3 separate regions of the Homo sapiens genome follow, and regions 2 and 3 are each linked to region 1. The links are contacts of gene promoters, found by promoter capture Hi-C in blood cells and fetal thymus (Javierre and others, 2016). All regions are on one chromosome and are shown on one strand. The core of a region is centred on a gene start or on the middle of the fragment in contact, and the rest is flanking DNA. Distances in the headings are between cores, read along the strand shown. Region 1 holds the start of GADD45G (growth arrest and DNA damage inducible gamma). Region 2 holds the start of LOC101927847 (a long non-coding RNA gene). Region 3 has its middle 86 kb from the start of MIR4290.

Region 1 (5,045 bases), core at 797-3,296:
TGCTTTGTGTCAGAGCATTTAAGAGGAAAAAGTCCCCAAGAGCAGGAGCAGTCTGCCACCATCCTCAGGGACCACAAAGGGCAGGGCCTGCAGAAGGCAATGCTCATTGTGCAGGAAAGCCTGAGGCCTCCTGCAAGCTGTTCAGATAAGCAGCTGTAGGAGGGAGGGGGAGGAGGGCCGAGGAGGGGGAGGGGAGGCACAGGTCACTGTTATCGCCTTGGAAGGCAAGACTTCAGCTGCTGCACTGTCTTATCTCAAGTATGCTCCTGTTTTGCAAGTTTAAAATCTTCCTAAAAGGAGAAAAGTAGGAGCCAGGCTCAAGTTCTACCCTAGCACTGGGCAGCATGCCCTCCCTCTGCCAGAGGGGAGGAGCCTGTCATTCTTGCCCGACAGGAAGACGGAACAGGTGCCATCAGTTCCACGGAGTTCCAGCAATCCTCTGAAACCCTGCACGCCACCTCCCCCGACACAAAGATCCCCTACCCTCAATAAAGAGCATAAGTTTGTTTCAAAAAGTTTATTGTAAAATTCAAAGCTTCAACAGCAGCATCCTTTAGAAAACGAAGCATTGCCCGGATCCGTTTTGAAAAAGCAGCGCAGTCGGCTAAGTCCTTCACGCTCCTGCAACTGTACCAAGTCCAGGGCGCCGCTCCTTCCTGCCGAGCGCAGGCTGCTGAGTCACGCCTGCCCGGCCAGTCTGTCCTTCCTGGCCCTGAGGCCAACGTCCTAGCCTAGGCCTTCCTGGGCGAGCAGCCGCTCCAGACACTTGCAGAGTCCTCAGCTCGGACCAGCCTGGCCCTGCCGCCACCGGGCCCCTCCTCGGGAGGCCGCGCCTCCTCGCTCTCCAGGCGCCCCCCCCGCCTGCCAGTCTCCACGCCGCACTCGGGCACCCTCGGAGGGCCCCTCCACAGAGCCAGCCGCGCTCTAGGCGCCCCGGGGCGTCACCACGTCGATCAGACCAAGGTCCCCGCCGGGCTGTCACTCGGGGAGGGTGATGCTGGGCACCCAGTCGTTAACGCTGCGGCTCTCCTCGCAAAACAGGCTGAGCTTCTCCAAGGCGGGATCCTTCCAGGCGTCCTCGTTGGGGTTCTGCGGAGAGAGAGCAGGGTCAGCCTGGCTGGCCGCGGGCCGAGGCGGGAACGACACTGGGGCGGGGACAGGACGGGACTGTACTCACCGAAATGAGGATGCAGTGCAGGTCGCCCGGCGCACCCGCCTCCTCGCCGGCGCCCACGATAGCCGCCAGCCGCTGCACATCGCCCACGCGCACTATGTCGATGTCGTTCTCGCAGCAGAAAGCCTGGATCAGCGTAAAATGGATCTGCAGCGCGATGTCGCCCTCGTCCTCCTCACCCGCAGCCAGCACACAGAAGGTCACATTGTCGGGGTCCCTGCGAGGGCAAGGCGGGGACCTAGGTCAGAACCGGCTAGCCGAGTTCTCCCGCCGCCACCCCTCCCATCCGCCAGTCTCCTCGCCATTCACCCCCGCCCCTGTCTCCCAGCCTGGGCCGCGTCTACACTTACACGTTCAAGACTTTGGCTGACTCGTAGACGCCGGCAGTGAGGCAGCCCTGACGCTGCGCCGACAGCAGCAACTCATGCAGCGCTTTCCCGGCACCCTGCATCCTGCGGAGGAGCCAGCGCAGTGAGCGGGAGCCGGCCGGAGGGCGCGGCGGAGACCCCAGCCCCGGCCACCGGCACACACCCTTGGCTCCCCAACTCCAACCACACTCCAATCCCGGCTCAGCGCCTGCACCCCGGCTCTCCAACCGGGATCTGGCGCCCGGACCCCCGCGCTCCCCTCCTACCCCGCGGATTCCCACCCTGGAAAACCCTGACGGTCGCCGACCGACCAGCGGCTTTCTCAGCGCCCTGAAACCCACCTGGCTGTGCTTTCCGGAACTGTGTCCTGGCCGCGGACTTCTTCCAGAGTCATAGTGCGATCAACCAGCAGCTAGTTATCCACAAGCGGAGAGCGCGGAGGGGACGCGGGCGAACACACTGACAGCCAGAGCTCAGCACGGCGCGCCCACCACCAGCGAGTGCGCCCCTACTACGCTGCGCGCCCTTATATAGGCTGGTGGGTGCGGCGCCGCCAGCTGGCGCGAGGCTGCGCGCCTATTGGCCGGCACCCGCTTTCTGATGTAAATGAGGCGGCGAGCCAGCGGCTCGTGCCAGAAGGCCACGTGGGGAGGGGTGCGGGGGATGACAATGCCTCAAATCTGCCGCTTTTGTTGGGGTGTTACCAGGCAGACTGGAGCCTGCAGATTTCATCTCGCCTGGCTTTTTTTTTTTTTTGAAGTCCTTAAAAGGAAAAAGTAAAAAAAAAAAAAAAAGAAAAAACCCAACCCACAAAAACCTTGTTTGCTTATATGATGCTGCAATTTGCGAAAAGCACCTTTATAGAAGCAAAGGGATTTTTTTTTGCATTTTGTATTGCTACCTTTCTATTTGTTTCTTTTCTTTAATTTGAAGTCTATGAGACTGTTGCATTGGAGCCAGAAATTAAGGTAAAAACAGGTAGCGCCAGTTAGAGGCTTGCAAAAGGCAGTGGGCACAGCCCCCTGCAGCTGACCACTAGCGTCCCGAGCGCGCTGGTGATGCCTGCCAGGCATACTCAATGTGTACATTGAGCCGTCTCTGGAAGATCCCACCCCACCTCCCCGCCCTTGGCCGAGCGCGGCGGGGCGCGGGAGACGGGGGCGGGCGGGGACGAGCAGATTGCGGCCGGCGCACGCCGCTCGTTTGCATTTCTATGGAGGGCGCACAATAGCAGAGGTCTGGCGTGTGGCGGTTTGCTGTAGGGACAATCGAGGCTTTCTCTTCATAGCAACACTGTCCACCTGCCGCCGGGTGGGGTGGGCAGGACCCCGCCGCGCGTGGGGGTCGCCGGGCTGCCTGGCGCGTGGGGTCGAGGCTGAGTGCCACTCCGTGGTCCCTGAGTGCACGCCCCCAGTACTGGCCCTGCTACAAGTAATTCCCTTCCATCCGTTCCTCGCACGGGTGCCGAACAGCCGCGCGAGTTGGGAAGGACGGAGAGCTGCTGTGCAGTCTTCGCGGCTGGACGCCCTGTGGCCGGGACCCCGCGGCTGCAGCCCCTGGAGCTTAGGTAATGCAGCTCGGAATCTTTCCCGGGGCGCCATCTGCAGGCAGGTTAAAAAGATCCTGAACCCCTTTTGTCCTCCCCTCCCCCCAACACACACACCCTTGCATTGGCCTGGCGCGGGGGAAGGGCGGTGGAGAGGGACGGCCACGGAGCTGCCCGGCCGGGCCCAGTGAGCCCTGTCCAAGCTGCGCATAAATAGAACCCGAGTAAGGGCTGCAAAACGCATTCAGGTGGGACTGCAGTTACCCTGGGGAGTAGAGGGCAAAAGGAAATTCCCATCCAGTACTGATGGAGTAAGAGCCCCTACGTCTTATACCATGTTGAAATATCTTAATTACTTAAATGCGCATATGTAAAAAGCCTTTTTTCCGGCAATGGAATAAGTCTGGAAGAGATCTTGGGAGAGTTTAATAGGCTAGAGGTTGCTGCCGTTTGACCATACACGCTGGCACTTTCAGAGGATTCACCCACTGAGCACCTTCTGTGCTACGTGAAAAGGCGCGCTGGGGGACACCTCATTGCTTCCTTTTTTTGGGTGAAGCCTTGGAGACTGGCCAGGACAGTGGCGGGCCGGGTGGATTGGATGGAAACCCGGGCCCTGCCGCAAGACTGGGGCGATAATGGGAAAGTAAACAACGCCGTGGCTTTGTTCCTTTCATTCAGGCTTTCTTCAGGTGGGTGGTGAATGTACAAGGTACTTCTGAATTTGTTATGGGGAAGTTTCCATTCTGCGCTTGCAGGCAGGCACTTCTGCCAAGGTGAGAAGCTGGCGTCTTGCGCCCCCCAGCGGCTTCCTGGCAGAGGAGAGCTGCAAAAGCCCGGCCCTTCCTGGATTCTAAGAATGAAGAGCTTGCTCTCCTAGCATTTCTGAACTCCAGAGGTGTCTCCTAAGGACGGGGGGAGAGGGGAGGGGGAAGCGGAGCCAGGCGGCATTATGCCCCGTTTGTTCGCTAGTTTCTTTTCTTTCTTGATGTATAAAATGATGATATGCCTTGATTGGATAAAATATGTTAATTTTAAGTGATTGGAATATAGGTATTACTCTTTTAAAACTATTAAACTTTTCTTTTCTTTTCTTTTCTTTTTTGAGACGGAGTCTCGCTCGGTTGCCCAGGCTGGAGTGCGGTGGCACAATCTCGGCTCACTGCAACCTCCGCCTCCCGGGTTCAAGCGATCCTTCTGCTTCAGCCTCCCGAGTAGCTGGGACTACAGGTGCGCCACCACGCCGGGCTAATTTTTGTATTTTTAGTAGAAACAGAGTTTCACCATGTTGGCCAGGCTGGTCTCAAACTCCTGACCTCGTGATCCACCCACCTCGGCCTCCCAAAGTGCTGGGATTACAGGCATGAGCAACCGCACCCGGCCTACTATTAAACATTTCTTAAAATGTATTAGTCCCAGGTCCCCAGGACATGCTGGAAATAAGATTTACTTAACATGCTAGCACCCACCTCTCCAATTTATGACGCTAAAAATCTGCCTACATGCCAGGCCAGAGAAAACAAAGGCTAGGCCTGAAGCCTCAGCCCCTCCTCCGAGAGGAAGGCCACTAATGAACACTCCCGGCTTCGAGTTGGGGGTGGGTGCATTTCCAGTCCCTCCTGAGCTAGCCTGGACCAGAAGAGATGATTGACGACCCCTGGGGCTGTTCTACTCTGCTCACATTTTTAAAGTATTCAATTTCAGGAAACTGCCTTTTTGACATATGATACAGCCTCACTTTGCTTTGTTATGTCAGTCCCAATGGCCCCAAAGCCCCCATCTCAATTGGGAAGAACAATTTTGTCTGCAGGCAAAGGTGGCCTTCCAGCAGACCCACCACCACCCTTCAGTTCAGACACATGCTGAAGCTTCTGGGCCTGGGATGCCCCTGTGTTGAGGAGTGGGCAATGCCCACTAGAAGTTTGAGGATCCAGAATATCCCACTACACGGCTTTGT
Region 2 (5,045 bases), core at 947-3,446, 370 kb before region 1:
GCAGACATAGAATTTCAGTCTTGCAAGGTGAAAGCATCCTGGGGATTGGTTGCACAGCAGTGTGTATATACTTAACACTGCTCAACTATACATTTAAAAAATGCTTAAGATGGCAAATTCTACATCATATGTATTTTACCACAATTATAAACAAAAATGTAAAAAAAGTGATGAATGACATAAAAACAGACATTCTACATATTACATGTTTGTAAGAATATAGAGAAAGACATAGGTCTCCTGACCTGGAGAAGGAAGATTGAGGAAGGATGAGAGGAATCTTAAGCATTTTATTTATACTGCCTATATTGTTTGATGATTACAATTTGTTTGTTCACATTCTTAGAAAAAAGTCCTCAATAAAGCCACAGATCCCATGAGAAAGTGGCAGAGGCACAAGTGAAATCAGGTTTTAAATGCATTCCTTTTACTCTCTTACCAGTAGACACACTCACAACTAATTTTTCATAACAGGCCATGTCACAACACTGGATAGGTTCTCTTGGCCTAAAAATGCCTATTTTGGTCACATATTGTATGGGCCTTCCAGTGAAGAAAGGGACTTCTCACCCCTGTCGAGAGAAATAAGTGTACTAGACTCATTGAGTAGCAATCCCCAAGTTGGAGAATATTCCTGAAGAGAAACTTCAGGAAACTGCAGGTCATTTTTTGCCCCATGTACTGATTAAAGCCCAATGCCCATGTAAGATGTATAGAGGTCTAACCTGCTACCCCACTGAAAGAACGAATCTCATTTCTCCAAAGTAATATTACCAGCAATGCAGAGCCTCCAGAACAAGTGGGCAGTAGGTATTTGAAGTCTGCCAAGGGGAGTTTGTAAGTTTATTTTTTTTTCTCAGGAGTAGGAAAATTCTATTCTACCCTACTGTTTCAAACGCAGTTTCAGGATGAGTAGATTTTCCTGCTAAACTGCTGAACATGATTTATTTGTTTTTGCTTTTGTTTTTTGAGACAGGTTTTCTCTCTCGTTGCCCAGGCTGGAGTGCAATGGCACAATCTCAACTCACTGCAACTTCTGCCTCCTGCGTTCAAGAGATTCTCCTGTCTCAGCCTCCCGGGTAGCTGGGATTACAGGCATGTGCCACCACACCTGTTTAATTTTGAATTTTTAGTAGAGACAAGGTTTCACCATGTTGGTCAGTCTGGTCGCGAACTCCTGTCCTCAGGCAATCCATCTGCCTCGGCCTCCCAAAGTGCTGGGATTACAAGTGTGAGCCACCGTGCCCAGCCCCTTAAAGTTATTAATATACGGGCCATCTCCCTGTGCAGAACTCCTGTGTAGAGATGGCAACGATTCTTGCAGCAGGGATAACCCCTGGATTAGGAAAGAAGGGAGGGAGGGAGAAAGGAATAATAGCATGCACCAGGTAAACAGGTTGGAAAGGGGGGTAATTCTGGACAGATAATCGTATAATAATCATGGTCCTTTAAGAAATCTTATAAAATAAGTGCTGCTTAGCACAAGATGTGTAGGAAAGGGAAGAAAGTTAAATGAGGCATCTAGACCCAGGCATCTACAAATTTGGCAGAAGCTTCATTTGTTTTGAAAATTAAAAGAAAATAATTTGTGGCCAGGTGTGGTGGCTCACGCCTGTAATCCCTGCACTTTGGGAGGCCAAGGCAGGTGGATCACGAGGTCAAGAGATCAAGACCATCCTGGCTAACACGGTGAAACCCCGTCTCTACTAAAAATACAAAAAATTAGCCTGGCATGGTGGTGGGCGTCTGTGGTCCCAGCTACTCGGGAGGCTGAGGCAGGAGAATGGCGTGAACCTGGGAGGCAGAGCTTGCAGTGAGCCAAAATCACGCCACTGCACTCCAGCCTGGGCGACAGAGCAAGACTCCATCTCAAAAAAAAAAAAAAAAAAAATGGTGCAGCACACCAACATGGCACATATATACATATGTAACAAACCTGCACGTTGTGCACATGTACCCTAGAACTTAAAGTATAATAAATATATATATATATATTTTTAATTCTAAAAAATAAAAAAATGTAAAATTTAGGAAGAAAACTCCCTTTGGAGTCTTAAAATTTTGTGTTAGCAATTGTTTAATTTCTAATTAGGTTAAAATTAGGAATTATCAGGGGTAACTTTTGTACTCCTAGATTTTCCCAACCACTCAAAACTTACGTTTTGTCTATTTTCAAGATTGATTGTATTTTAAAAATCTTTATCTGTAGTTATGTTTGACTTTCGTTTCTAGTGTTGTTTATTTGTGACTTACCCCCTTTTAAACTCCATTTTGCTAGGACTGGTCTGCCGATGCTTGCAGCTATCACCTTCTGAATTCCCTTCCTTCCCCATCTCCTAAGTTTGCTGGGTTGTTCATTTTCTAGTCTTCTGAGTTGGATCTTGGCCTGTGAATGTCCGTATTTCTTTTTTGGCTTCATGTTCCTCTCCACACACCTCTAGCTGCATCCCACATGCCCTGACGCAGGGGTATTTTCAGTGTCATTCAATGCTAAGTATTTTGTCCTCTGCAATTGCCATGTAGCATTTTCAGTTTCATCGCAACAAACCAGGATTTTATGACATGAGGGCTTCGTGTCTGTGAGACACGCACGTGTACGGCTGTTCCCACTTCGCTCAGCCCTTCACCCTCGCCAAGCCCTGGTCTTCTCTTTGGGCCTGGTCTTGTTTTCCACACAGATGCCTGGACGGAGCCATGTGTCCTGGCCGTATTGCTGGCCCACTGGGCAGAGTGCTCAGTCCCATCACCGAAGCGGCAGCGCCTGCAGCCCTGCCTTCATGGGACACAGCTCCCGCCTGCTCCTTGCTAGTGTCGACTAAAGGTAAAATAATCAAGCTTTTAAAGAATTAAAGTGAGTTTTATTCAGAAGTCTCGTCGAGGGCTACACACAGAAGCCAATAGCCTGGGAGCAGCTCTTTAGAGAGGATCTATCAATGGCTCTGGCCAGGGTTTCAGCCCATAGCTCAGATACAGGTGGTAAGGATTCAGTACGAGCAAAATCCCATCAAACTTGCTCAGAAGTTATATTAAAGCAGAGCCAAATCAAGGCTTAAGTGTAAGAGTACACTTACAGGTTATACTTTACAGAGGCATAATCACTCACTGGTCAGACATTATTTTCTTTTCTGAGACAGAGTCTCCCTCTGTCACCCAGGCTGGAGTGCAGTGGCGCAATCACGACTCACTGCAGCCTCAGCCTCCTGGGCTCAAGTGATCCTCCCACTTCAGCCTTCTGAGTAGCTGAGACTATAGGCATATGCCACCACGCCCAACTGGACATTATTTTATGTGTAGGAAAAGGCAAGGACTAGGATCATGTGTGTTTTGACTATAGGAATGTAGGGACTCAGGTGAGAGACATGGAGGTGCTCTGTGCTCTATTCTGTTTTGTCTTCAAAGCAACCCACCAGAGAGCTCCACGTTGTCACAGTGTCAGGGGCTTTGTGGAATTATGCTGGCCAGCAGAAATGAGCAAATGTGGCTTCTTACCTGTGCTACTGTGTCTCACAGTGAACAAGGCGGCCATGTCCCTCTCTGAAGCCTGCCCGGATGGACTCCACCCCCGAATGGACTCCACGCCTGACCAGCGCCTAGAGATTGCGGGCAGCAGCTGGAGTTTGCCACTCCAGGGCTCAGTGCTCTTTATGCTTTTGCTGCTGGGCTCTTGTGCGTATTTTTGAGGCATCACATTTTATCCACATCTTCATGAATTTCTCATAGGAGGAGGTGGGCTCATGTGAGCTCCTACTGCCCTGTGGTTACTGGAAAGTGAAGCCCTAACAGCCACCTTCCTCTGCCTCCACCTATTTGAGATCTCAGTAGGATTGGCAGTGTCTCTACACTGGGAACCTCACTTTCCATTTGATTGATATTTTTGAAGGATGAAGAGAAAAGGAGAAGATTGTAATACATGGGTGAGGATGTGTACATATGTGTGTGTGTGTGAGAGAGAGAGAGACTAACTAAATCCTTAGTGTCCAGGGAAAAGCCTAATGCTGGAAAAACAGAGTAATGAAGCTGAGCTCCCCCTCTTTCTCAGCAGCTTTATTGATTTACAGTTGACATACCATAAAGTTCACCTTTGTAAAGTGTATGGTTCAACCGTTTTGAGTATATTTACAAAGCTATGCAATTATCACTGCTTTCTAATTTTAGAACAATTTCATTACCTTGTACCAAGAAGAAACCTCGTACCCACTAGCAGTGGCTCCTCCTTCCTCTGCACTTTGCCTTCTCCAGCCCCAGCAACGCCTACTCCACTGTCTGTGAATTTGACTCCCCTATTACCTCATAGAAGTGGCTTTTGTGACTAGCTTCTCTCACTTTTTGGCTATGATTAATAATGTTTCTATTAATACCCATTTACAGGTTTTTGCATGGTTGTGTGTTTAATTTCTCTTCATGTATACCTAGCAGTGGAATTGCTGAGTCATATGGTTACTGTGTTTAACATTGTGAGGATCTAACCAACTGTTTTCTAAACAAAGTGGCTTTTTAAAAAAAAAAATAATTTTATTTTATTTTTATTTTAAGTTCTGGGATACATGTGCAGGACGTGCAGCTTTGTTACACAGGTAAACATGTGCCATGGTGTTTTGCGCACCTATCAACCCATCACCTAGGTATTAAGCCCAGCATGCATTAGCCATTTATCCTGATGCTCTCCCTCCACCTGCCCCTAACCACAGACCCCAGTGTGTGTTGTTCCCCTCCCTGTGTCCCTGTGTTCTCATTGTTCAGCTCTCAGTTATAAGTGAGAATATGCTGTGTTTGGTTTTCTGTTCCTGTGTTAGTTTGCTAAGAATGGCTTCCAGCTCCATCCATGTCCTTGCAAAGGACATGATCTCGTTCCTATTTATGGCTGCGTAGTATTTCATGCTGTATATGTACTGGCTTTGTATTTTAAGGACTGTTTGAGATTGCACCCCTCATGCACTGCTGGTGCATGTGAATGTGAAGTAATACAGCTGCTTTAGAAAACAGCCTACCAGCTCCTCAAATGGTTAGACATAGAGTTACCACATGACCAAGAAATGTTACACCTA
Region 3 (5,045 bases), core at 1,580-4,079, 330 kb before region 1:
TATAATCTAATAGCAGATGTGACATCTCTTTCCTTTTACCACATTCTATTAGCGCTAAGTCATAGGTCCTGCCCACCCTCGTGGGGAAGGAACCCCAGGAGTATGAGCATCCGGAGTTGAGGATGACTGGGCCAAGCCAGAGGCTGCCTGTCATAGGGTTAGAGAAGCGTAGGACTGGGTGCAGACCACCAAGGAGTTGGTTGAAGGAAACTAGAGATGAGCAGAGCCGGGCATAGCCGAGGGCAGACTTGATTGATTCTGAGAACAAAGGGCCAAAAGGGTCTGGACACAGGAGAACCAGAGAAACTGTAGCATCTAAGACATTCCCGAAGCTTACGGTTGCAGGGGAAGTCTTGACTGCACTTTTTGAACAGGACAGGACTTGACTAGGCCGAGAGGAGAGAGAAGGAAAGGACAAGTCTCATTGATTTTATGAGGACTGCTTTCCAGATCCTGGGGGCGAATGTTAGAAACTCTGTTTTGGCATGTTAGAAGCATGACCCAGCAGTTTCTGTGTCAGAAGAAGCCCAGTGTATCATAATAAAGTTTGTGGTCCAAGTACCCCTTCCCCCACGTTCTAAAATACATCCCATTAGTAATTTGCTCTTGTGAGATAAGAATATAAGAAACCCGACCTCCTAACCTAATGCTATGAACAACAAATGACTTCAGAAAGGGAAGAAAGAGGCAGAGACTGAGAGAAAGGGGACAACGGAGCAAAAAGAACGGAGGTTTCCAAAGACCTGCCCAGGTTTGGTTTGTGAAGTCCAAGGCAACTTTCTACTTTGTGAATCAACAACATCATGAAAAATAATATTTTCATCCCCAGTGTGGAGAGAAGCAGCTCCAACACACCATTTATTTAAGCTTTCTGCAGGAAAGGAAACAGGAAAGTAAGAAAGGGCAAAGAAAGACAAAAAAACTGTGAAGAACAAAACAATCTAATCTGGAAAAAAACACAAACTGAAAACAGAAGTTTCCTCGAGTGTTCTGAACTGCAGGGTGAAAAAAAGAAAGGAATGAAAAAAAACACAAACTGAAAACAAGAAGTTTCCTCGAGCGTTCTGAACTGCAGGGTGAAAAAAAATAAGGGAATGTGAATTTAGTTATTAATAGAAGTTTCACATAAGGGATTTCTTTTTAAAAGAAGTGAGAATTTGGAAATAAGGCACCAAATTGAGGCTTAAGCCACCATTTACAGAGTTAATAAATTAATTAAGAGCAACAGTAGATAATATACACAAGTAAAAAAAGAAAATCACGTTATATTAACTGTAAAAAAAACTTGTTAACCTTCTTATTTACTCTCTCATTTTTGGGTAATGGCAGACCAGGTAATTTAGACCAACGCTTCTGTTGGAAACAACCCGAAAATGCCAATCTATGTCTCATCCATCCATATCTATATGTAAATACATATGTCTACATCTATATCCATAAATATTTATTTCTATCAATATCTATCTCTCTATAAAGGCTTAAAGGCAGTAAACAGCTAAGTAGATGGTGAGAAATTAGCCAACTGAAATCCAGGAAAGTTCTGGAATCTAGCAAATTGAGTCAAGCACTTGAAGCTAATTTTTGTCCTGGGGAAATTTCAAAGTCTGGAAGCAAGAGTTTAGAATCTGAGTTATATTCTTGCTGACCTCATGACATTAGAGAGACAAAGTTGCACAGAGGTGCCCAAGGACCTGGTAAAATAACCCCTCAAAATGACACTGAAAAACACCAGGAAAAGGTACTTTTTATGGTGTTAAAGAATTATTTACCCCTTCCCAAAATCACCAAGATTACCCAGTGTCACAGGTGAATTTTTTTAATGTTTGAAGTAACAGAATATTTTGGTGCATTTAAACTATTTCAGAAAGCATAGCAAAAATAAGAAAGTTAGCACAATTTTTTTTACAGTCAGTGTAACACAATTTTTCTTTTGTAATTAATAAGCCTTGTCTGGGCAGTAGCTCACTCTTGTTGTTTTCTTCTTTTTATTTTTCTGTATTAGACAATTCTACTAAGTGATTAAAAATACATTAAATATGCCTAACATGGAAGATCAAGGTAATTAATAAGTTTACAAAGTGGTAGGATAGGCAAGATTATCTATTCAATTTCCAAATTTGGTCAAAAAGTCATAAACTTTTGAACCACACAAATTCAAAGTATGTGGAAAATCAGATCTTAAAATCCAAAATCATGTGTGTAGAAGGTGCAAATAGGGAGGGTAAAGCAAAATACAAGAGCCTGGGAGAGTGAATGGCCTGATCAGGAGACCAGGCAGAGGTCACTCTTAGCTAAAAGCCCTGTGTGTCTGCCCAACTCCTCCACCCCAACAGACACAGAAGATTCATAAACCAGATAGTGCCTTAAAAAAGAGTGATGATTCTGCCACGGCTCTTTGACATACTTCTGGACCATTTTTTGTCCTTCTCTTATGCAAATATTAAGCTCCTTCTTCTTTCAGATAAATAATTCAGTACTTTTAAATGTCCTAAAATGATTTGATGTTAAGTCTGTTTTAACCAGCAAAACAAGCATTCAGTGAACATGCACCTTGCACCAGGAATATGCTAACCATTTAGCTAAGAACTGGTTCAAGAGGGACATAGGATCACAATTTTAAAAATCGTGGGAGCAAGGTCCGCTTGACCTGTCTACCATGGAGGGCTGTGAAAGAGCAAAGCCTGGCTGCCAAACACCCTTCACCCACTTCTTAAGCTCACTCAGGTGCTTGAAAAGAAGAAAACTACTCCATGACAGCCCCTCTGTAGTAAGAACAAATAGTGAGAGGAATCCAGAAGCTCTGTGATTGTAGTTGCTTCACATAAAGATCCATCTCAGAGACTTGGGATCCTTGGCACTTTGACCTTAGGAAGAACCAGTGAGAAAATATAAGGCAGTGACATTGACCTAACTAACCAACTAACCTTACTAGTTCTTTTTTTTTTTTTTTCCTTTTTTGAGACAGAGTCTTGCTCTATCGCCAGGCTGGAGCGTAGTGGTTCAATCTTGGCTCACTGCAACCTCTGCCTCCCAGATTCGAGTGATTCTCTTGCCTCAGCCTCCTGAGTAGCTGGGACTACAGGCATATGCCACCACGCCCAGCTAATTTTTGTTATTTTTAGTAGAGATGGGGTTTCACTGTGTTGGCCAGGTTGGTCTCGATCTCTTGACCTCATGATCCGCCCTCCTCGGCCTCCCAAAGTGCTGGGATTACAGGTGTGAGCCACCGCACCCGGCCCTAACCTCACTAATTCTTAAGAATAATAACCTTTCATCAACAAAAGAGAGACCTTTTCCCTCAACCTGCAGTTTCCAGCAAAGCTCCCACAGTTCTGGAAGATCTGGAAGATCTGCAATCTTCTGAAGCATTCTCAATCAATATCCAAAATTTGGATCATTCAAGGGCCCCAGTGAGTTCTTATGGTGTGCCTTCCTCCCAGCAGGCAAGTCAGCTCAGAATGGACAGAGTTGCCCACCCCCTTCTTTCTCTCATGGCCTGAGTTGTTTGCACTAGGCTGAGGGGGCAGCCTCTTCAACAGATGAACAAAGAACACAGAAGAGCTGCTGGGTGCTTTCTCAGGAGTGAGCAGGTTCTTGATCCCCTTGTCTGTTATACTCCTCTGTCCTCTGAATCCAGCCCAGCTGCTTTCATAAAAGCCTGAAAGCATCCTTCTATGTCTTTGCCTATTTTGTGATAAATTATGCTCAATTTCCATTTCTTCTTTTCATCAGAGCATTTGACTTCCTCCAAATATAAAACCCAAGTTCGTTTCAGTTTTAGGCTGATAAAAAGTTAGTTTCATGTGTGCATTCTTCTTTATCCACAAGCCTCAACCCAAGGTTTAGGAATAAGGGTTCCACCCTGAGTGAAAGTAGGTCAATTGAGAATTGTTCCCTGGCTCACTGACAGTGTTGATTTATCCAGGGGATGCCTTTCTGCTAGTTCAAATGAGAAGCTGATTCAGAGGCTAGTAAACTGTGTGTAGATACTGATGCCCAGGGATGGAGAGAATGTCTGTTTCTTAAACTCGTATTCCCAGTACACACATTGCTTCGGGCATTACGGCATCCAACAGGGTTAGTGGTGCCATAGCATTGAGCCACCAGGAAGCAAGAATTAAGGAAACAGAACACATCAATCATCCAAACATTGTAGGGACCTGTCCCATGTTCTTTGTCATTCCCAGTATGAGATGGAGACATTTTATAACACCCTCAGTCACTCTGAAGACAAGGAATAGGAAGAAACAGACTTGGAGTAGAACACACTGCCAACCAAGGTAGGAATGTGGGTGCATATCCTGGGCTGGTTTTTGTGACTTTGATGATTAGGTGGGATGATTGGGTGGATGTACTTGGGAAGCGACGAAGCACCAGAGAAATAGGAGCTAAGGTGGAAATTCAACAACTGGGTTTCAGAAGAGCTGGGCTCAAGTCCAAGTTCTGCCCAGTCCATGTGATCTTAGGCAGGCAAGATGCAGTCTGCATGGCCTGCAGTGTTCTCAACACTTCGCTTTCCTGGCTTCACAATGTCTACCACGACTAGTGTCTGAAGTGGGCTCTCCATTCCTCTTGGCTTTGACACTCCAGTTCTGAACTGTCCCCCATTTCCCAGCTACAGAGTTTATACAAACAAGTGGTGCTCGTCGGAGAACCTCTCCGAGTGCTTGGGCTGACAAAGCAAAGCACAGCCAGAATGCAGGCAGCTCCAGCCTCCAGCATCCTTGACCAACTTCACAAAGGACTGTAGAGGAAGCGACATTAAAGCAAGGGGCCATTGTGAAAGCTTTTCTATTGACTGTAACTCTCCCTTTGAGTTAGAAATAGACTTTGAAAGTGGGGCCATTGTCTGACCAGGCTCCCTGTTAGTGCACATTTTACCTGGACCCAACAGGTCTCTTGTCTCCTACAACAAATATTGTGCCATACTGGGCAGCTGCCAACCTCAAAGCACACGCCTTCCTGCCAGGTGTGATCAGGTACAGTCCATATTTATGTCGAGAGATGGAGAAGGGAACAGTCACCCTCCGCCTGGATTCCAACAA

Evidence for each region. Contacts are between HindIII fragments. The CHiCAGO score rates a contact against its expected background, and 5 or more counts as called.
Region 2: a fragment that was not itself captured here is called in contact with the fragment with the promoter of GADD45G in region 1 in 10 of 17 cell types (M1 macrophages, M0 macrophages, M2 macrophages and 7 more); the score reaches 21.0 in M1 macrophages.
Region 3: a fragment that was not itself captured here is called in contact with the fragment with the promoter of GADD45G in region 1 in 14 of 17 cell types (M1 macrophages, megakaryocytes, M0 macrophages and 11 more); the score reaches 18.2 in M1 macrophages.

Annotation. Positions count from the first base shown.
Region 1 is chr9:89,602,013-89,607,057 of GRCh38, reverse strand. It overlaps GADD45G (growth arrest and DNA damage inducible gamma), which reads right to left and starts at 2,046. Exons shown (of 4, transcript NM_006705.4): 1 at 1,884-2,046; 2 at 1,525-1,626; 3 at 1,178-1,391; 4 at 503-1,089. The coding sequence starts at 1,936. The coding sequence ends at 979. LOC105376139 (a long non-coding RNA gene) reads left to right here and starts at 2,042. Exons shown (of 2, transcript XR_930105.3): 1 at 2,042-4,318. RefSeq lists a silencer at 2,677-2,726 and an enhancer at 2,337-3,235. The HindIII fragment of the contact is 4,421 bases long and covers 538-4,958 here.
Region 2 is chr9:89,968,608-89,973,652 of GRCh38, reverse strand. LOC101927847 (a long non-coding RNA gene) reads right to left here and starts at 4,237. Exons shown (of 3, transcript NR_109791.1): 1 at 4,170-4,237. RefSeq lists an enhancer at 4,148-4,197. The HindIII fragment of the contact is 1,282 bases long and covers 1,556-2,837 here.
Region 3 is chr9:89,934,877-89,939,921 of GRCh38, reverse strand. No RefSeq gene overlaps it. Among named protein-coding and RNA genes, the nearest start is that of MIR4290, 86 kb to the left of the region's middle. The HindIII fragment of the contact is 3,919 bases long and covers 870-4,788 here.